Regions from separate parts of the Homo sapiens genome. Here region 2 is linked to region 1. Evidence: promoter capture Hi-C in 16 types of primary human blood cells and fetal thymus (Javierre and others, 2016). All regions are on one chromosome and are shown on one strand. Each heading gives the region's core, a stretch centred on a gene start or on the middle of the fragment in contact. The rest is flanking DNA. Distances are from core to core; before and after follow the strand shown. Region 1 holds the start of FAM184B (family with sequence similarity 184 member B). Region 2 has its middle 23 kb from the start of CLRN2.

Evidence for each region. The method cuts DNA at HindIII sites, captures the fragments that hold promoters and counts their contacts. A CHiCAGO score of 5 or more calls a contact.
Region 2: a contact is called between a fragment that was not itself captured here and the fragment with the promoter of FAM184B in region 1, in 1 of 17 cell types (megakaryocytes). The highest score is 5.8, in megakaryocytes.

What each region holds. Positions count from the first base shown.
Region 1 is chr4:17,777,397-17,784,822 of GRCh38, reverse strand. It overlaps FAM184B (family with sequence similarity 184 member B), which reads left to right and starts at 3,202. Exons shown (of 18, transcript NM_015688.2): 1 at 3,202-3,664. The coding sequence starts at 3,524. The HindIII fragment of the contact is 8,098 bases long and covers 2,220-7,426 here.
Region 2 is chr4:17,534,034-17,541,459 of GRCh38, reverse strand. No RefSeq gene overlaps it. Among named protein-coding and RNA genes, the nearest start is that of CLRN2, 23 kb to the right of the region's middle. The HindIII fragment of the contact is 685 bases long and covers 2,583-3,267 here.

The DNA of each region.
Region 1 (7,426 bases), core at 1,953-4,452:
GGGGGGGATACTATGAGAAGTTTATAATCTAAAGAAAAGGCAAATCAATTATGATTTTAAATTTTTCTGACCAAGCACAGTGGCTCACACCTGTAATCCCAGCACTTTTGGGAGGCCGAGGTGGGAAGATCACTTGAAGCTAGGAGTTCAACACCAGCCTGGACATCATAGTGAGACCTTGTTTCTATTTTAAAAAATAAGAATTTTTAAAAGAAAAATATCATATTGCCAGCATTGTGCTCTGGGAAGCTTATATTTGTAATCTAAAGACAAATCAATTGGAAAGAATATCACCTTTGAGGTCAGATAGACCCAGATCCATTCACTAGCTGTATACAGTTGGGGACTCAACCTGCCTTAGCTTCACTTTCCTAGTCTGTAGAATGAGAATGACAATAAGTACCTCAGAGAAGGTCAAAACATGTGCTACGGGCTTAGCACAGTGCCAATATGACATTAGTGGCCTAATAAATGTACTTCCACCTCCACATTTGATATAGTACTTAATTCTCTTCTGCCCTCAATTTCATTCCTGATGGTGTAAAGGGACCTACTAATCCCAGTGCTGGAAAATCCTAGGAGCTGCAGAGGGCTCTCCAAAACAGGTCGGCTCATGGTGCCTTGATTACAGCAGCTGTGGGCCAACAAAGCTGATAAAGGAATCTGATTTTCCCGTTGTCTTCCATTGTAAAGTTGAAAGTATAATATTTCCTACTGGAACATTTTTTAGCCCCAAGACCTAATGAAATCATTATTAAAAAACTAAAACTTGGGGTTAGACTTGCAGTTTTTCTAAACTTTAGTGTGTATAAGATCATCTAGAGCAATGGCTTTCAATTCTTTTCAGATCCAACATCACCCTTTTTATAACATCCACGTTACTATCTTGAAATTCATAGATAATACACACCTTTTTAAATCTGCATAATTTCTTGACTTTGATTTTTTTGACATTTGATTCTTGATATTTCATTATAATTAAATAATATGTACAGTTGGCCCTCCATATCAATGTGTTCCACATCCTCAAAGTCAACTAACCACAAGTCAAAAACATTTGAGGAAAAAAAATTGATGGTTGCATCTGTACTGTATACATATACAGCCTATTTTTTTATTCCCTAAACAATACAGTGTAACAACTAATTACATAACATTTACGTTGTATTAGGTATTACAAGTAATATAGAGATGATTTAATGCATACGAGAGGATGTGAGTAGGTTATATGCAAACGTTACACCATTTTATGTAAGTGACTTGAACATCCATGGATTTTGGTATCTGAAGGGGTACTGGAACCAATCCCCTGTTGATACTGAGGGACACAGTGTAGTAATCAGATGCTTGCATAGGTAGACTCACCATCAATATGGCAGTTAGAAGTGTGTTGTGGCCAGGCACGGTGGCTCACACCTGTAATTCCAGTACTTTGGGAGGCCTAGGTGGGAGGATCACTCAAGGCCAGGAATTTGAGACCAACTTGGCCAACATGGAGAAACCCCATCTCTACTAAAAATGCAAAAATTAGTCGGGCGTGGTGGTGCATGCCTGTTATCCCAGCTACTCTGGAGGCTGAGGCACAAGAATGGCTTAAACTCAGGAAGTAGAAGTTGCAGTAAGCCGAGATCATGCCACTGCACTCCAGCCTGGGTGACAGAGCAAAACTCTGTCTCAAAAAAATAAAAAAAATAAATAAATAAGTGTGTTGTATTGGCAACCAAATATCATGAGCCACCTGGCCCTTGATGTGATTTTCCAAAATGGTCAACAACTTTTAGTAAAGTTCTTGACCAAAAAGGCTAATTTTCCTCTAGTTTACACAGTGGTTGAATTCCTGTAAAATTTAGTATATATTAAGATCCTGCAGAAAATATTCTAAATACACAATTTGGAATTAAGCAGAGAGCTGTTTAATGTGGATTCCTGACCCCCTGACCCCCATCCTCAGAGGCTTTGTCTCTGTTTTCTAAAGGAACTGGGGGAGGGAGGGGTTGTGCTAAAAAGAGAACTTAAGATGGTAAATTAGAAATCAAAAACCGAGGCCGGTCATTTGATACAGAATCTAGAATAGGAATGTCTATTTCAGAAACAGTTCTACTTGTAATTGCCTGACTTGGTACAAATTTTCTGGGTCAATTTTCCTCATCGACAAAAATGGGTTTTGTTACCTTCAGTATGGATGGGTGGAACTGTGGTTTCTGAGACCCTTTGAAGCTTGCTTGGTTTATGAAGATTATTAAAATTTCTGATAAAAGGCAATGTATAAATGATATACATTCACTATGCAAACTATCATGAAGACCTATTATTCGAGCTTTAGGAAAAGCTGATCACGGTGCTGTCACTTTCCCTTAAAGTCCACTGTCTGAAACCAGAGAACACGCCAGAAAGAAATTTGGCCCGCTAACCTCTCCCCTCACCAAACACTAAACAGACACCAGCTCAGAATCCGAAAACTTGACAGTCTGGCTCCAGTCTGCCCAAGGCCAGTAGTGTGGATTTGGACGACTCACTTTACTTTCAATGGGCTCGGTTTGCTAAGATTTTCAGTTCCATCTTTTACTCATCTAACTGCTCCATTCCTCTTTGCTTCTTCCTTTCCCGCACCTGCCACCATCCTTTCTACCTCCCTAACGACTTTGTCTTTGCGTTCCTACCGCTTCCCGCATTACCCGTTTCGCACTTTCTCATCTCAGATTTCGGTCACCCGCACCCTGCCATCCCCTTGGCTTCTCCTCTTTGGGCATCTCCGGTATTCCTCCCGCAATGTCCTGGCTCCTCTCCAAGATCCAAAAAGGAAGGCTACCATCCCCAGCCCCGCTGTGCACTCGCGCAACTCAGGCGCTGGCCCACACCGTGCGCCCCGGATCCCACACCTCCTTGAGTCCCGATGGCTCGCCCTCACCTACCCGCCCCTCTCTTAGCATCTCGTCCCCCACCGCCATCTCCGCTATCAGCTCGGAGACTCGGGAGCCGCCAGTCACTGTGCCCTGTCCCTCTCCGGAGGCCGCCAGTCACTGTGCCCTGTCCCTCTCCGGAGGCTCTTCTTCCTCTTTAGCCTGGGATCCCCACCTCGGGCAGGGTCCGTCGCCACCAAGTCCAGGGCCGCGCGCCACCCACGTGTCCAAGAGCGCAGTGCCCGCCCACCGCAAACCCCCCAAGGCCGGCAGCTCCTAGCCGCGGAAGCTCTCCCCTTGCACACGAAACCTGCACTGGCTGGGGAACTGCAGACTGATCGCCAGCGGCACGTGCGGGGCGCCGACGCCTCGCCGCAGGGTGCGGGTGCCCGCGGAGCCAGCCAGCCAGAGAACCAGCAGGAGAGGAAAAAGGGTGGGCGCGCGGGTGGGCCCGGGAGGCGGAGACCTTCGGGAAGCTGGGGCCACGCGGCGGTGCAGGCGACGGGACTGCAGTGCCACCTCTCCCGAGAAACCCACACGCTCGCACGCCCGCGCGCGCACGCACGTGCACACGGTGGGCAGGGAGAAAACGAGAGAGTCTGAGTGCTGGGCGCGTTTTAGCGATGGCTTCTGCTCTCAACAGCAAAATTAACCCGCCCGGCACTTGCCAGGGCTCCAAAGCCGACGGTGGCGCCGGCTGGAGAATGGACTGTGATCCCCAGATGCACGTGAAAATGTGCAAGAAGATCGCCCAGCTCACCAAGGTAAGGTGGGGCGCAGCGGGCCAGCGAGCTGCACGCCCGGGGCGCCCGAGCCGGGAGTCAGTGCGGATGCGCCTCCCGGGAGGCCCGGGCCAAATCCAGACAGAAACTTTGTCTCGGAGGCCAACCGGGAAGGGAAGCGGTCCTAAATCTGGGTGACTTGACCTTCTAGAGGCACCATCCTAAAGCAGCAGAGAAAGAGGATCCTTGCCAAGGAAACTCCCACAGCCTGCTGGCTGGGCAGGTGGTCTGTGCTTTTCCAAGGTGGGAATGTGAATCGTGTGTGTGTGTGTGTCCCCGCCAGCTTTGCTCAAGTGCCTAGAATGTTGTGATTTCATTCAACTGCCATACTTTACAGCTGGGGAGGTCATGTGGGCTCTATTTAAACACTTGATCCATTTATTCCTTCATTCAACAAATATTTGCGTCATTTGTTGAGTGCCAGCAGCTTGCGTGGCACCGTACTAAACCTGGAATGCAGCCTAGGGGACTTACTATCAAACTGGGTGCAGACGTGTGTAGGAGCATAAATGGGGAAGAGCACGATTCACCAAATAACTATGGGATTAGGAAGGACCTAGGGAAGTCAGCCAGCCCACCTCCTTACCTCGTGCAGGGGGCTCTGATTGAACCTTCCCAGACTATGTCTTTTTCAAGAAGACCAGCAAAAAGATGCCACCAGTGCTCTTTGTTAACCCTCTGCAGCTCCCCAATTAGAAGCTCCTTGTCACAGACTCCCCTCTGTGCCTTGTCTAGATGGAAAACAACATCCCTCACTGTCTCCTATACAAGGTTTCAAGTGGATGAATTTAGCTGTTTGCCTTGGGGTTTCCTTTCGGTCTCATAATAAACTCCTGGTGCCATGCCCGCCAGGGAGAGGTCAGGTCCAGGTCTGTCCTGTAGCGTCTGGAACATGCTCTCTTTCCTCACCATCTCCCTCTCACTTCCCACACATTTTTTTGTGGGATCACAGACATTCCCCTCCCCCTGTCCCGCCAACCTCACTATTTTGCCAGGAGGAATAGAGCACAGGGGCTTGGAATTGAACACTAGCCGCCTTCTCCCACCTGTCTCATTAACTTCACATTCTTTGCACGTGAGCCTGTCTCCAAACAGGGCTCTCTTTGGTCAAGGAATGAAAAAAGAGACTGGAGATAGCCCTTAGCGTTCTTGACATGTATAGCTGGTACTATTGATCTAACCTACATTCATGTAAATAGTGACATCAACCAAAACATGTATTTATTCAAGTACCTGAAAAGGCACTTGGCACAGTGCAAGGCATCTTCTCTATCTTCAAAGAATCTAAAATAGTTTTAAAGAAACAAGATTTGAAATATTGAGTGAAAGCTAGAAGACTATACTATGTCTTGGGTGCTAAATTGGGTGTTTCCAATTACGAGTGCTATAGAAGTAGAAACAAAGGACAAATCAGTATGGGAGGAACAGTGAGGGGAGATTTTATGGAAGAGATGATCCTTGAATTCAGTGTGGACTTATGGAATTCCTACTATGTGCCAGCTGCTATGCTGAATGTTGATGGCATAACAATTAGTAAGATATGGTCTTGCCCTTGTGGTATGACAAACACATAAACAGATCATTTCAATATAAAATAGCAATCATTCCACTCATTAATATTTATGGCACACCTATTATGTGCCAAGCACTGAAAACACAGCAGTATAGAAGGCATACATGATTCTTGGCACACAGTAGGCAGTGTTTCTTAAAGTATATTCTGCATTAGAAATCGCAATTGATCCTTATGTAGTGCGTCTGTTTACCATTTTTATGCTAATTGCTTAAATTAGAAGTTTTTGTTATTAATAGGCCACCATTCTTTTGGCTACTATTTGTATGTGAAATATTGTCCTTCATATTTAATCTTTCTATGAGTTTTATTTTGGTTGTGTCTCTGACAGATGAATTTAATCCACAGGGATTTATTGCGATTACTAATATATTTGGGCTCTTCTTCCATCAGATCTTGTGTTTTTCATTTACCATTCTTTCTCCTTGCTTCTTTTTCTTCCATTCTTGCCTTCTATCAGATTAGTAAAGTGATACATATTCCACTGCTGGTTTGAGAGCTTTAGGTTTTATTTCTATTCTTCTCAGAATCGTCTTTTATTTTTTCAACATACATACTTAACTCTGATTTTTTTGCTAACAAAGTTAGTATGTAATTGTTTCTTCCCATGAAAGAACTTTGTATATTTTACTCATTTAACAGCCCCTTCCTTCCCATCTTTTTATTGCTGCCTAGAGTTTTATTTTTACTTTTTTGTTCGTTTGTTTAAGAGACAGGGTCTTGCTCTGTTACCCAGGCTGGAGTGTAGTGGCACAGTCATGGCTGACTGGAGCCTCAAGCTCCTGGCCTCAAGCAATCCTCCCACCTCAGACTCCCAAGTAGCTAGGAACAGGTCCACACCACCACCCCCAGCTAATATTTTCTTTTTCAAAAATTTTTTGTAGAAATAGAGTCTCACCATGTTGCCCAAGCTGGTCTCGAACTCCTGGCTTCAAGCAATCCTCCCGCCTCAACCTTCCAAAGCTCAGGCATGTGCCACCGCATTCAATCTGTTTTTACTTCTTAAATTTAAAAATAGTTTTTATAGTTAAAAGTTAATTAAATTTATGACATTTTATCAATTTTTCTGCTATTTCTTTTTCTTGAATCTACAGTGTTCCCTTTGGGTTCACTTTTCTTCTGGCTGAAGTCCATCCTTTAATAGTTCTTTCTGTAGGTGCCTTGGTATGGGAGGGAATTCATTGTTGGAAATGTCTTAATTTTGCCCTCACTGTTGTATGATGATTTATTTGGATATAAAATTCTAGTGAACAGTTATTTTCCCACACCACACTGATGATAGTACTCCACTGTCTTCTGGTACTAAGTGTTGCTGGTTAAAAATTCTACTGCCAATCTAATTTTCATTCCCTTATAAATAAGCTGCCTTTTCTCTTTGATAACATTTCAGATTTGTTTTGTTTATTTTTACTGTCCAGCAGGTTTTCTAGAACTGTCTTGGTGTTAGTTTATCTTTATCCTCTGCAAAAGGAGGAGGTACTTTTTTTTTTTTTCTTTGAGACAGTGTCTCACTACGTCACCCAGGTTGGAGTGCAGTGGTGTGATCAAAGCTCACTACAACCTTGACCTCCCATACTCAAGCTGGACTACAAGCATGAGCCACCATGCCCAGCTAATTTTTAAAAAATTTTTTGTAGAGACAGGGTCTCACTATGTTGCCCAGGCTGATCTCAGACTCCTGAGCTCAAGCAATCCTCCCGCCTTGGCTTCCCAAAGTGCTGGGATTACAGGGGTGCATATGCTTTCTTTAATTCTGGAAAATTATTACTGATTTTCTCTTGCAATATTGCTTCCTAGCCATTACCTCCATTATCTTTTCTGGCACTACCATTAGGTAAGTGAGGAAGCCTCACTATCTATATCCTGAGATGTTATTTTTTTAAAAAAAGATTTTGTCTTTGTGTTGCATCCTGGTGAATTCCTTGCCTTCCAATTTGCCAGTCTTCTAAATAATTTGTCCAATCCAGAGTTTTTCCCATCTATTAAGTTTTTTGAATTTCAATAATTATATTTTTTATTTCTAAGATTGTGCTTCCTATTTTCTTTCTGCCTAATTTTGATTAACAGTTTTTTTAATATTTACAGCTTTATTGAGGTATAATTTACATACCATAAAATTCACCTGTTTTAATTGTTCAGTTCAACATTGTTTTAGTCATTAAGCCATAACC
Region 2 (7,426 bases), core at 1,676-4,175, 240 kb after region 1:
AGAAAATATACATGGACATATTTAGGGGTAAAGTGGTAAGATGTCCTTGGCTACTTACTTGCAAATGGTTCAGCAAAAATTTATGCACACAGATGTTTGCACAACACACATAGAGAAAGAAAAAGGAGGGAGACTATGATAAAGCATATGTGATAAAAATTTTAATTAAAAAAAATTTTTTTTTAATTTCTCCATTTTTTGCGGAGACAGGGTCTCACTTTGTTGCCCAGGCTGGCCTCGAGCTCCTGGACTCAAGTGATCCTCCTGCCTCAGCCTCCCAAAGTGCTGGGATTATAGGCATAAGCCACTGAACCTGGCCCAAATGTGATAAAATTTTAACATTTGGAGAATCTAGCTAAAGAATATTTAGGAAATTTTTGTACTCTCTTTGCAACTTCCTCTAAGTTTAAGGTTATGTAAAAGTAAAAAGTTAAAAAAATGCCATGGGAATTAAATGTGATTATACAGGTAAAGCAGATAAAGTGTTTAGCACAGTAGCTGGCACGTGGGAAATACTTTCTGCAAGATAGCTGGTATTACAAAATTTATCGGCCAATATACAACCTTCTACTCTTTTCGGTACATCTGTCCATTGTCTATAGCAGGCGTGCCCAAACCCCAGGCCACACAGACTGGGACTGGTCCGTGGCCTGTTAGGAACCAAATAGACTGCACCGCAGGAGATGAGCTGTGGGCCAGCAAGCATTACTGCCTGAACTCCACCTCCTGTCAGATTAGCGGCCACATTAGATTCTCGCAGGAGCGCCAACCCTATTGTGAGTTGTGCATGTGAGGGACCTAGGTTGCACACTCTTTTTAAGAATCTAATGCCTGATCTGAGGTGGAACAGTTTCATCCTGAAACCATCTAACCCCCAACCCCAACACACAATTTTTCCAATTGTGCATCCTTTTACCATATCATCTAGCAATCACACTTCTTGACATTTATCCAAAGAAGTTGAAAACTTATGACCGCAAAAAAAACTTATGACCACTGCAACCTCCCTGGTGCCAAAAAGGCAGGGGACCGCTGGTCTAAAGAACACATGGGCTTCATCTCTCCTTCCACACTCTGCTTGTCTCCATTTCTGCCTTTGCCTGGCATGCACCCTGTAACCCTCCTGGCCAGCATGAAACATTTTTAGTTGAGCTCTAGTTCCTTTCCCAAGAAACTTTATTCACTAATCCCTATACCAACCTCTTCTTTCCTGAACTTCTGTAAATCCAATTACTAATATAAAAAGTAAGCATTGGCTTATTATCTGTCATAGGTGATTTTTTTTCTTTGTAAGAAGAAAATGGTGAAATACCATACACACCCATTAGAATGGCCAAAATCCAGAAGAGAGATGACACCAAATACTGGTGAGGATGTGGAGCAACAGGAACTCTCATTCATTGCTGGTGGGAATGCAAAATGGTACAGCCACTTTGAAAGACAGTTTGGCAGTTTCTTAAAAAACTAAGATCCTTTTACCATATCATCTAGCAATCACACTTCTTGACATTTATCCAAAGAAGTTGAAAACTTATGACCACAAAAAAACCTGCACAAGGATGTTTATAGCAGCTTTATTCATAATTACTAAAGCTTGGAGGAAAGCAATATGTTCTTCAGTAGATAAATAGATAAATAAACTTTGGTACACACAGACAATGGAATATTATTCAGTGCTAAAAAGAAATGAGCTATCAAGGTACTAAGACATGGAAGAAACATAAATACATTTTACTAAATGAAGGAAGCCAGTCTGAAAAGGCTACACACTGTATAGATACATATATAGGTACATACACACATACTGTACCTACATATGTATAGATATTGCAAAATTCCAACTGGCACATTACAGGCATTAGCCACCACACCTGGCCTATTTTCTAAATAATTTAGGAACAGTTTCTGGGTGCTTAACATCTGTCAAAGAGCAAAAGCCCTAGAAAGATTCCTGTCCTGGCTGGGCGCAGTGGCTCATGCCTGTAATCCCAGCACTTTGGGAGGTTGAGGTGGGCGGATCACCTGAGGTTTGGAGTTTGAGACCAGCCTGACCAAAATAGAGAAACCCCATCTCTACTAAAAATACAAAATTAGCCAGGCGTGGTGGCTCATGCCTGTAATCCCAGCTACTCAGGAGGCTGAGGCAGAAGAATCACTTGAACCCAGGGGGTGGAGGTTGCAGTGAGCCGAGATCGTGCCATTGCACTCCAGCCTGGGCAACAAGAGCGAAACTCTGTAAAAAAAAAAAAAAAAAATCCTGTCCTCATAGAGATGACATTCTCATGGAGAAAGACAGGCAGTATACAGTAAGTATAACACAAATATCAATTATCTAGCATGTTAAAGATAAGCAAAAAGAAAACGTCGAGCAGGGTAGTAAAGATGAACAATAGTGGTAAGGTATAAGGCAGGCTTCACTATTAAACTGGGTTTAATTTGAGGCGAGACTCAAGTTCACAACGCAACCTCAAACCTCCTGAGAAGTCAATTCCCAAAATAGATGGGAAGGCAATTCCTAAAGTTGTGAGAGATGATGTAATCATTTACTTTGTGAGTAAGTGTCTTTTTGCCCTGACAAAGCTTAGAATTAAGTACAAAAATACTTAAAAGAAGCAAAATCAAGGTATTGATATTTTTGATTTTAAAATTTGTACTTCCTTATTATTTTATGTATTGGTGATGAAAGAGAAGCTGGTCTGCTGGTGAAACAGGACAGCCGTATATTTCTAATGATTTGGAATCATGTTTTGCTTATTTATATACAGGGCTGGAATTTTTTTTTTTTTTTTTTTGAGACAGAGTCTCGCCCTGTCGCCCAGGCTAGAGTGCAGTGGTGTGATCTCGGCTGACTGCAACCTCCGCCTCCCAGGTTCAAACAATTCTCCTGCCTCAGCCTCCCGAGTAGCCGGGATTACAGGCGCCTGCCACCACACTCAGCCTTTTTTTTTTTTTTTTTTTTTTTTGTATTTTTAGTAGAGACATGGTTTCACCATGTTGGCTAGGCTGGTCTCAAACTCCTGACCTCGTGATCCGCCCTCCTTGGCCTCCCGAAGTGCTGGGATTACACGCTTGAGCCACTGCACCCAGCCAGAATTTTTAAGATAACTTAAGGTTCACAGCATTTTAACTTTAATTCATTAGACTTAGAAGAATTATTAAATTTTGTCAGTTAATTGAAGTGCATGGAAAATAAATTAAGTTACATAGGCTGTTTCAAGATGTTTATTTAGTACATTCATAAAGGGGACCAAATGGTAAACCAAAGCTTTTAAAAAGAGATCACTAAAATTTGCTAACCTAAAAAACAGAACAATAATATTTATAAGCTTAACTTCAATTTAAGGAGAAACAAATTTTGTGAATGTATAACTTTAATAAATGGAATATTACCTATTTCAATGTATTATTATTATTATTTTCATTTTTGCTGAAAGGCATACAACGTGCTATGTAAAGGGAACTTGAAAAAGTCATGCATTCCCATTCTTTACTTTCTGAAGTAACTAACAGTGTTTTTGCCACAGTTTTGTAAATTCTAACTAACTTGTTAAAGTTTGCCATAGTGATGACTGAGAAAAGAGACGAGGCCTTCATGATGAGGGCTTTAAAGAAACAAAGGCATACTTACAAAACAAGATTTAAAACATCACGATTAATTAATTTTCAAGAAAATTGTTTTCATTACAAGGAATAACCTACTACAGCAAAACCCTGAAGGGTGGGCCTTTAAAATGGTTCAGCTGACTACTCACCATAGGAACACTACTTTTCAAAACTAAAGTAAAATTTTGAGTAGTTTGTTTTGGAGTCAGAAATCACCATTACTGACATAGTTAATAAACAGCTGGTATATCAGGAGCCACCTCTCAGGTGGGCCACTTAAGCTGTGGTACCCAGGGAAGCTTCAACAAGAGTAGACAGAATGACTCGAGGATGGCTCATTTCTCTCTTCAACAGTGCTGAGAACTTTTTTCCTTTCTTTTTTTTTTTAAATATATTTTTATAGAGATGGGGTCTCCCTATGTTGCCCAGGCTGGTCTCAAACTCCTGGGCTCAACTGATCCTCTTGCCTCGGCCTCCCAAAGTGCTGGGATTATATTAATAGACAAACATCTCCTTTTCAATAGAAAGAATCCTTTTGTCCTATTCACTCCCTCCTGCCTCCTACCGCACGGTGGCATAAGCCACCACACCTGGTCTGGTGCTGAGAACTTCTGTGGGCCTCTTACAAACATCTCTCTCTCTCTCTTTTTTTTTTTTTTTTTGATAGAGTCTCACTCTGTTGCCCAAGCTGGAGTACAGTGGTGTGATCTCGACTCACTGAAACCTCTGTCTCCCAGGTTCCAGTGATTCTCCTGCCTCAGCCTCCCGGGTAGCTGGGATTACAGGCACGAACTACCACGCCTGGCTAATTTTTGTATTTTTAGTAGAGACGGGCTTTCACCATGTTAGCCAGGCTGGTCTCGAACTCCTGAGCCTCAGCCTCCCAAAGTACTAGGATTACAAGTGTGTGCGCCTGGCCACATCCCCTTTTCAATAGAAAGAATTCTTTTTGTCCTCTTCACTCCCTCCTTCCTCCTACTCCCTTGAAATCTGTAAGGTTGAGAGAATTGTTATGTTAGAAGAAAAAAATGTATTATATACAATTTATTGTTCCGCAAGAGGTCAATGACAAAAGAAAAATCACTGTGGTTCCAAAGTCATTTGTTAGTGTTGCTTATTATTTTTTCCAAAACAGAAAGCAATAAAGCAAACAATTACATGCCATGTTTTTACATTTGTTTTATTTAACCAAGAACTCAGCCGCGAACATCAGAGAAATGCATATACAATATATTCAGAATATAGTTGAATTGGTGGTTGAAATCCTCACAATATTAAATTGTCAGTGCATGTAACAGCATCTCCAATCACACTGGTAGTCAACTATTACCAAATAGCATTCATGAAAATGCCTAGCTTAGTGCCCGGCATATAGTTAGGTGCTTTATTCACTATAAATCTGGATATATTATATAGCATTAAAAGTCATAACATTTTAGAGAGGGAAAGAAAATTAGAGATTATCTTACGCGACTTGGTTATATTATAAATGAGAAAGCTGTGTTTCTAATTCTTTAACTTGTGAATAAATGTAATGAATAAATGTGAATCTGAAAGAGTCAATCCTTCAACATGGATCCTGAGTGGCTAACTGGGCCTAAGTTTTGAATACAGCCAAGGAGCCATTTGCTTATTAGAGGTCAAACATACACTCTGAGTTCCCCGCAAACCCACACCCTTTTAACTTGGAGACTTTCAGGTCTCACCTGAACCAACCAATCAGAGCTCACCGGCCTTGGCCAATCAGGACTCAGCTATATAAACCAATCAGGGTGCAGCTCTACCAACCAATCAGAACTCAGCTGTGTTGGTCAATCAGAGCTAAGAAAGTTTGAATCCTTTATTTTCATAAGCAGACCTGATTGGGAAGCTGGGGTGGACGTTTTGCTATAAACCTGAACCCTCTCTTTGTTCTCTGGAATGCACTTTTGTTTTACACTGAAGCTGTTTCCTCAGTTTGCAAACTGTTCACTGGAATAAAGTCTCTTTCCTCCAAATTCCTTTTCAGAGAACTTGTGTTCACAAACTGAAGGCTGCATCTCCTCAGTTTACAAACTGTGTCTCCTTGGTTTGCAAGGCTGGGAATAGGGTAGGCACCTACTTCAAATCCTTATACGTTAGGCTAGGTACATCCTTGAAAATCACACGGGTAGAAGGAGGCTGCATCTCTCTGGTTTTCAAACTGTTCATTGGAATAAAGTCTCTTTCCTCCATATTTCTTTTCAGAGAACTTTTGTTCAAAAACCCAAAAACTGGTAATAAGAGCAACTACGTCTCAGAATTTTTATGAGAATGAAAATGAAACAATGCATGTGGGGAAATTAGTAGAAAGCCTAGCATATGGCAAACGCTCTGTTATTGATTGGCCTTATTTTTGTCAAGCTGTGACTATTGCTGACTCATGATTGACACTGCCGTAGAAAAGAAAGTAAGAAACAGAGAGCAGACAACCTAATTTATCTGGCAAGGATTTCATGTGTGTCCTAGTTGCATAGGTTTGTTAAGAAGCTCTACTCTTGGTTTCACAACCCAAACTACCAAAACAAAAGGAAACGAAGAATCATGAGGAAATGAATAGGAGAAATCTTTCACCTGTAGAAATTCATCTAAAATGGGCTCAGGAAGCCGGGCATGGTAGCTCATGCCTGTAATACCAGCAATTTGGGATGCTGAGGTGGGCGGATCATTTGAGGTCAGGAGTTCAAGACCAGCCTGGCCAACATGGTGAAATCCCGTCTCTACAAAGAAATACAGAAAAAAAAAAATTAGCTGGGCATGGTGGTACATGTCTGTGGTCCCAGCTACTTGGGAGGCTGAGGCAAGAGGATTGCTTGAATTCGGGAGATGGAGGTTGCAGTGAGCCAAGATCACACCACTGCACTCCAGCGTGGGTGGCAGAGTGAGACTCCATCTCAAAAAGAAATTAAAATAAAATAAAATAATAAAATAAAATAAAATAAAAACAAAATAAATAAATAAAATGGGCTCAGTAACTTCTCTGAGTTGCTGTGTCCCTCTCCAGTATCACATCAGGAAATCACATTTCACATTTCACCTTTGAGATTCCCTGTGTCTTGCGTAGCCTCCTTCCCCTCTATGACTTCCAGCGATGAACCTGGCTTAATATTTAAGTACTGGAAGTAGGTTAGCACTTCATTCCCAGCAAGTATTTTCTTTTTTCTTTTTTTTTGAGATGGAGTCTTTCTCTGTCACCAGGCTGGAGTGCAGAGGGCGTGATCTCGGCTCACTGCAACCTCAGTCCCCGGGTTCAAACTATTATCCTATCTCAGCCTCCTGAGTAGCTGGGACTACAGGCATGCGCCACCATGCCCAGTTAATTTTTGTATTTTTAGTAGAGATGGGGTTTCACCATCTTGGCCAGGATGGTCTTGATCTCTTGACCTCGTGATCCACCCACCTTGGCTTCCCAAAGTCCTGGATTACAGGCGTGAGCCACAGCGCCCAGCCCCAGCAAGTATTTTCTAAATTGTGATGCTAATCTATTAATAATGATTAATAATTAATACTTTTGTTCATGAGTTTTATATCTAAACATTATGTTCTTTTCATGAATATTGTTAGAACAAGAAATACTGGCATTGAGTAACATTGTTGTGGTGGGTGGAAATCTGTTCCCCAAAGTTGTCTTGGATTATCTGGGTGGACCAAGTATAATCACAAGGGTTCTTTTAAGAGAGAGGCAGAAGGGTCAGAGCCATCATCACCTGTATGATGGAAGCAGAGTCTGGGAATATATAATTGTTGGAAGGAACCATGACTTAGCAAATGCAGGTGGCCTCGGGAAGCTAAAAAAGGCAAAGAA